Regions from separate parts of the Homo sapiens genome. Here region 2 is linked to region 1. The links are contacts of gene promoters, found by promoter capture Hi-C in human tissues and cell types (Jung and others, 2019). All regions are on one chromosome and are shown on one strand. The core of a region is centred on a gene start or on the middle of the fragment in contact, and the rest is flanking DNA. Distances in the headings are between cores, read along the strand shown. Region 1 holds the start of GIP (gastric inhibitory polypeptide). Region 2 overlaps LOC105371811 (a long non-coding RNA gene).

Region 1 (3,543 bases), core at 123-2,622:
GGCCACCATCTTCCAAGGTTATTTCCTGAGCTAAGACAGAAAAAAGCCAGGACATGTTGAGAGAGCAACCAGTAGGGGTTCTGAAAGCTGGAGAGGGGCAAAGCCCTGAGGTTTGGACCCTTTCTTTTCCTTTTTCTTTTTTTTTTTTTTTTTTGAGATGGAGTCTCGCTCTGTCGTCCAGGTGGGAGTGCAGTGGCACAATCTTGGCTCACTGCAACCTCCACCTCCTGGGTTCAAGCCATTCTTCTGCCTCAGCCTCTCGAGTAGCCTGGACTACAGGCATGTGCCACCACTCCCGGCTAATTTTTGTATTTTTAGTAGAGACAGGGTTTCACCATATTGGCCAGGCTGGTCTCGAACTCCTGACCTTGTGATCTGCCCACCTGGGCCTCCCAAAGTGCTGGGATAACAGGCGTGAGCCATCGCGCCTTGCCAGTTTGGACCTTTTCTAAGAGCCTGGGGCAACACCATGGGGGAAGATGAGGGGTGCTGTGCACTGGAGTTAGTGACTAGAAGGGACATGGAATCTTACCAAAAGATGGACCAGGCTGGGTGCAGTGGCTCATGCCTGCAATCCCAGCACTTTGGGAGGCCCAGGTGGGCGGATCACTTGAGGTCAGGAGTTTGAGACCAGCCTGGCCAATATGGTGAAATCCTGTCTCTACATAAAAGACAAAGATTAGCCAGGTGTGGTGGTGCGCGCCTGTGATCCCAGCTATTCAGGAGGCTGAGGCATGAGAATCGCTTGAACCTGGGAGGAAGAGGTTGCAGTGAGCCGAGATTGCGCCAGTGCACTCCAGCCTGGGTGACAGAGCGAGACTCCATCTCTAAATAAATAAATAAAGGAAACATCAGCGCTACCTTCTCATTTCTCTTTCTCTTTTTTTGAGACAGGGTTTCGCTCTGTCACCCGGGTTGGAGTGCAGTGACACAATCGTGGCTCACTGCAGCCTCGACCTCCTGGGCTCAGGCAAACCTTTCACTTCACCCTCCCGAGTACCTAGAACCGCAGGCATGTACCACCATGCCCAGCTAATTTTTTAAATTATGTGTAGAGATCGAGTTTCCCTCCATTGCCCAGGCTGGTCTTGAACTCCTGTGCTCAAATGATCCTCCTACCTCGGCTCCCAAAGTATTGGGATTACAGGCATGAGGCACCGCACCTGACTATCTTCTCACATCTCATATAGAGGAAGAGAAAACTAAGATGCCAGGGCTGCTGAGCATCTCAGGGTTGCCAAGATCCATCTGCTCTCGGGTCATCTCATCCATCCCTGTCTCCACTTCTCTTACCAGACTTCCTTTCCAGCTCTTCCAGAAGAAGGACAGATAGGGGTCTCCTTCCCCTGATTTCTGGACCTTCTGAGCCTGCTGAAGAAATCATGCCCCAGCTCCTTTATATTAGGCATAGACCTGCTGATTAGCCTAAAAGCATCTTATCTCAAGAAATTAAGCCCACAGCTCCTGCCACATTAAGTCCATTTTACACATAATAGAGTTGCCCTTTCCACCTGAACTGTGCTAATTGGTGATTAACATTTGGCTATCTCCAGCTGCTGTCTGGGGCCTGCCTGTGGGTAGGGTACCCTAAGTACCCCCTTTTTTCTTCCTCCTCCTCCCTTCTGGGCACAGGGCCCACTACTATTCTTCTATGCCCTACTTCCTTTACAGTTGCCCTCAGTTAGAAGGGATACTTGTAGGCCAGGCGCGATGAATCACGTCTGTAATCCCAGCGCTTGGGAGGACGACACGGGCGGATCACCTGAGGTCAGGGGTTCGAGACCAGCCTGGCCAACATGGTGAAACCCAGTCTCTACTAAAAATACAAAAATTAGCTGGGCATGGTCGTGCACGGCTGTAATCCCAGCTACTTGGGAGGTTGAGGCAAGAGAATCACTTGAACCTGGGAGGCAGAAGTTACAGTGAGCCAAGATCGAGTTCACTGCACTCCAGCATGGGCAACAAAGAGAGACTCTCTCAAAAAAGAAAAAAAGAAAAGAAAAAAGAAAGGGGGCCGGGCGCAGTGACTCACGCCTGTAATCCCAGCACTTTGGGAGGCCGAGGCGGGTGGATCACGAGGTCACGAGATCGAGACCATCCTGGCTAACACAGTGAAACCCCGTCTGTACTAAAAACACAAAAAATTAGCCGGGCATGTTGGCAGGTGCCTGTAGTCCCAGCTACTCGGGAGGCTGAGGCAGGAGAATGGCGTGAACCCGGCAGGCGGAGGTTGCAGTGAGCCGAGATGGCGCCACTGCCTGCCAGCCTGGGCGACGGAGCGAGACTCCATCTCAAAACAAACAAACAAACAAAAAAAAAAAAAACAAACAAAAATTAGCCAGGCATGGTGGCACGTGCCTGTAGTCCCAGCTACTTGGGAGGCTGAGGCAGGAGAATCGCTTGAACCCAGACCTGGAGGCAGAGGTTGTAGTGAGCCAAGATCGTGCCACTGCACTCCAGCCTGGGTGACAAAACAAGACTCTGTCTCAAAAAATAAAAATAAAAATAAAAAAGGGTACTTGTAGTGAAGACAGACTTGGGGTAGGGTGGCACTAACTGGCAGGGGGACACTCCCACAAGGCAACAGGCTACTTCTGGGTGGGAGAGAGTAGGTCCACAGTCATCTGAATCCCAGCTCTGGACAGTGGCCTATGGCTTTGGTGATGTGGCAATGCCCCCATCACATTATCTAGAGAGGTGTCCCAAGGGCTCAATGTTGAGGGAATATGAAGGATCGGGGTTTCCTAGGGACAGCTGGATAAACTGAGAACATACATTCAAGCTGTCTTCCTGCTCAGGGGCAGGATAAAGCAGGAGAAAGAGACATGTTTGTACCTCAGGGGCTCACAGGAGGGTGGGGTAGTTACAACTTTATCTATAGAGATTTAGGAGCCCCTCTCCTCATATGTCCTACTGTCCTGTACAAGAGAAGTATGTCATCCTGTCTCTTCTATCAGAGTGAAGACCCTGGAGTTATGCTGTGCCTCTCTATTATACAGGAGCCACTCCAAGGCAGGGGCTTTCTGTCCCTGATCTGCCTGGGAGCTCTCTGAGAGGAGGAGGAGAGCTGGAGGCGATGTTCCCCCAGCACACTGAGGCTTTCTGAGGCTAAGGGCTGTGTCTCCCCCTCAGACTGGAGACTCCTTGGGATACTCCCTTTGCCTTTCTCCAAGTACTTAGCACATGGCTCTGTCCACAGGGGCTCTCAGTCTAGAAGGGGCAGGGCACAGATTGCATTTTTGGCAGACCTCCAAGGCGTTCTTTCCAGGCTCCTCCTCTGCCGCCGCCATGGGTACTTGGGACCATAAACAGCCAAGCTCATGCTCTGCCTATCAGCTCCAGGTCCTAATAAAGGCCACCTTCCTTTCCAGGTGAACACCCTAGCCTAGGAGCAGATCCAGCATGAAATTAAGTGTGCGTGTGGGATGAGAGGTACCTGGACTAGCAGGGTCACTTACCTCTGCCTCCTGGAAACCTCCTCTGCATACCCACCCATTCTCCACCATCTAGAAAAACTCCTCCCTTAGCAAGCTCTCCAAATTC
Region 2 (3,060 bases), core at 5-2,504, 230 kb before region 1:
CGCCATGTTACCCAGGCTGGTCTCAAACTGCTGAGCTCAAGCGACCCTTCCACCTCAGCCTCCCAAAGTGCTGGGACGACAGGCATGAGCCACTGCAACCGACCATGACAAATTTTAAAATGGAAATAAATTTCATTATATCTCATTAGTATCTCAAACTAATACTAAAAACAGACTTAAGATATTTGGGAAATTATTAAAGGGAAAAGGGAAAAATTAAGGAATTTGGAAAAATCAAAACATGAACTCTAAAATAAAGAAACCCGGCTGGGAGTGGTGGCTCAAGCCTATAATCTCAGCATTTTGGGAGGCCGAGGCAGGTGGATCCTTGAGGTCAGGAGTTCAAGTCCAGCCTGGCCAACATGGTGAAACCCCATCTCTACAAAAATAAATAAATAAATAAATAAATTAGCCGGGCGTGGTGGCATATGCCTGTTGTCCCAGCCACTCGGGAGGCTAAGGCAGGAGAATTGCTTGAACCCGGGTGGCAGAGGTTGCAGTGAGCCAAGATCGTGCCACTGCACTCCAGCTTGGGTGACAGAGTGAGACTCCGTCTCAAAAAATGAAATAAAATGAAGAAAACCCTTTAATACACTGTCATCTTTTTTATCAGTGCCCCCCATGACTTCTAAAACTACAAAAGTGGGAACCAATTTCTGTCCTCTTCCTCCCACCCCATTCCTCCCACCCTGTTTTACTTTGGAGGCTGAGTCCACATGAGTAACAAAGGAGCTATACCTGGCAAATGTTCACCTAGAGTTGAATTGTGGGAGGCTCAAACTCCTCTAATGGCTCTGTTACCCACACTGACAGCAGAAAACTGTCATGTTTGGGTCAACAAGCATGGTTGGGTCAACCTGGTGCCAAAACACCTTCCAAGCCTGTCCCTTCTATGGGGGAAAAAAATGGGTATTTGGTGGGCACTGAGGATTCTGAATTTGATTTTATGGGTGGCTCTCAAAGCCTCACCCTTTAAAATTGAGGGTGAACATTGGTGTACATGTGTGGTTTTTTAGGACATGAGCCTACTGCTTTATTCTTTTCTTTTTCTTGAGACGGAGTCTCGCTCTGTTGCCCAGGCTGGAGTGTGGTGGCGTGATCTCGGCTCACTGCAACCTTCGCCTCCCGAGTTCAAGCGATTCTCCTGCCTCAGCCTCCTGAGTAGTTGGGATTATAGGCACACATCACCATGCCTGGCTAATTCTTGTATTTTTAGTAGAGACAGGGTTTCACCATGTTGGTCAGGCTGGTCTTGAACCCCTGACCTCGTGATCCACCCGCCACAGCCTCCCAAAGTGCTGGGATTACAGGTGTGAGCCACCGTGCCCAGCCTATTGATTTGTTTTCTAATGGCAAATTTTACAGATACAGAAAAGTAAACAAAAAAGTGTAATTCAACCCCTCATACCTATCACTCAGCTTCAACAATAATCAACTCATAGCCCATCTTATTGCATTTCTTTCTGGAGGTTTTTTGTTTCGTTTTGTTTTGTTTTGTTTTGTTTTTTTGAGACAGAGTCTCACTCTGCCTCCCAAGTAGCTGGGACTACAGGCGCCCACCACCACACCTGGCTAATTTTTTGTATTTTTAGTAGAGACAGGGTTTCACCTTGTTAGCCAGGATGGTCTCCATCTCCTGACCTCGTGATCCACCCACCTTGGCCTCCCAAAGTTATGATGAGCACCGGGCTCAGCCTTCTTTCTGGAGTATTTTAAAGCAAATCCCAGACTTCTTTTCTTTTTTTTTCTTTTTTTTTGTTCCAAAATTCTTCAGTTTGAATCTTTAACAGGTTTAAAAAAATTTTTTTTTGTTTTTAGAGATGGATCTTGCTCTGTCACCCAGGCAGGAGTGCAGTGTCACTGAAGCCTTGAACTCCTGGGCTCAAGGGATCCCACGCCTAGGACTACAGGACTACAGGCATGTGCTACCATGCCTGGGTACATTTTTTTTTTTTTGGTCGAGACGGGGGTTCCCAGATGGGTCTCAAACTCCCTTGTTCAAGTGATCTGCCTCTTTGGCTTCCCAAAGTGGTGGGATTATAGGCATGAGCCACTGCGCCCAGCCTAGTTTTATTTTATTTTTTGTAGAGACAAGGTCTCGCTTGTTGCCCAGGCTGGTCTCTAAACTCCTGGCCTCAAGGGATCCTCCAACCTTGGCCTTTTGAAGTGTTGGGATTATGGGCGTAAGCCACTCTTCTTTTGCTTTTTTTATATATAACCTTTATGTGATTGTCACACAGGACAAAATTGAGAATAATTCCTTAATACTATCCATGTTTGAATTTCCTAAGTTTTCTCAAAAATGTCTTTTTACAGTTAGTTTAAGTCAGGATCTAAACAAAGTTCATACATTACATTTGCTTGATGTCTCTCAACTGTCTTATAACCTATAACAATTGCTCCCAATCCATTTTTCATGCCATTACTTTATTTAAAAACCTGGGCCAACCCAGTTCTCAAAAGGTATTGGACATCCTCAGAAAAGATGACTGCTCTATGTTGAACCAAACAACTGATTCTTACAGGTTTCTTCCTCACTTGTCCTCTGGCTGTGGCAGCCAGATATGGACAGGAGAGCTACATCCTTCCCTCCACTCCCTGCCAAAGAAAGGAGAGCTGGGATAAGCAGTGCCCTCCCCTGCCCACCCACTATGTCACTTTCTGACTCCCTTTGGTCCCCTCATTGCTCTTGGAGTGAGAGACCTCATTCCTTCTCTCACTGGAGGCAGCCAAGAATGGGATCCTCTGGTGGGTCTTTGGATTATGTAAGTTTCAAACACTGGATACACAGCTCCAGATCTAAAGGCAAGATTGCTGCTCTAGAGGCAGGACTGTTCATTTCCTGCCTTGGGGATGCACCCAGAGGCCTGAATGCTTCCCAAGGAAACCAAAGAAAGAACATGGTCTGTTTCAGAGGTGGAGTGGCCAGTCTAGCTCTGCCATCTCTCACTCCTTCCTGCCTTTAGGGTACCACTGAGGTGGAAAGCCTGAACTGCTGTCTCTGCTCTGGCTTGTGCTCAAGCTGTGTGTCCTTGGACTGGCCATCTCCTCTCTGCAGCC

The links. The method cuts DNA at HindIII sites, captures the fragments that hold promoters and counts their contacts. A contact is called where the count stands out against the background at its distance.
Region 2: a fragment that was not itself captured here is called in contact with the fragment with the promoter of GIP in region 1 in 3 of the 25 tissues and cell types used here (aorta, dorsolateral prefrontal cortex and spleen).

Annotation. Positions count from the first base shown.
Region 1 is chr17:48,967,224-48,970,766 of GRCh38, forward strand. GIP (gastric inhibitory polypeptide) reads right to left here and starts at 1,373. Exons shown (of 6, transcript NM_004123.3): 1 at 1,294-1,373; 2 at 1-30. The coding sequence starts at 9. The HindIII fragment of the contact is 44,226 bases long and covers 1-3,543 here.
Region 2 is chr17:48,739,916-48,742,975 of GRCh38, forward strand. All of the region lies in intron 2 of LOC105371811 (a long non-coding RNA gene), which reads left to right. Among named protein-coding and RNA genes, the nearest start is that of HOXB13, 13 kb to the left of the region's middle. The HindIII fragment of the contact is 8,003 bases long and covers 1-3,060 here.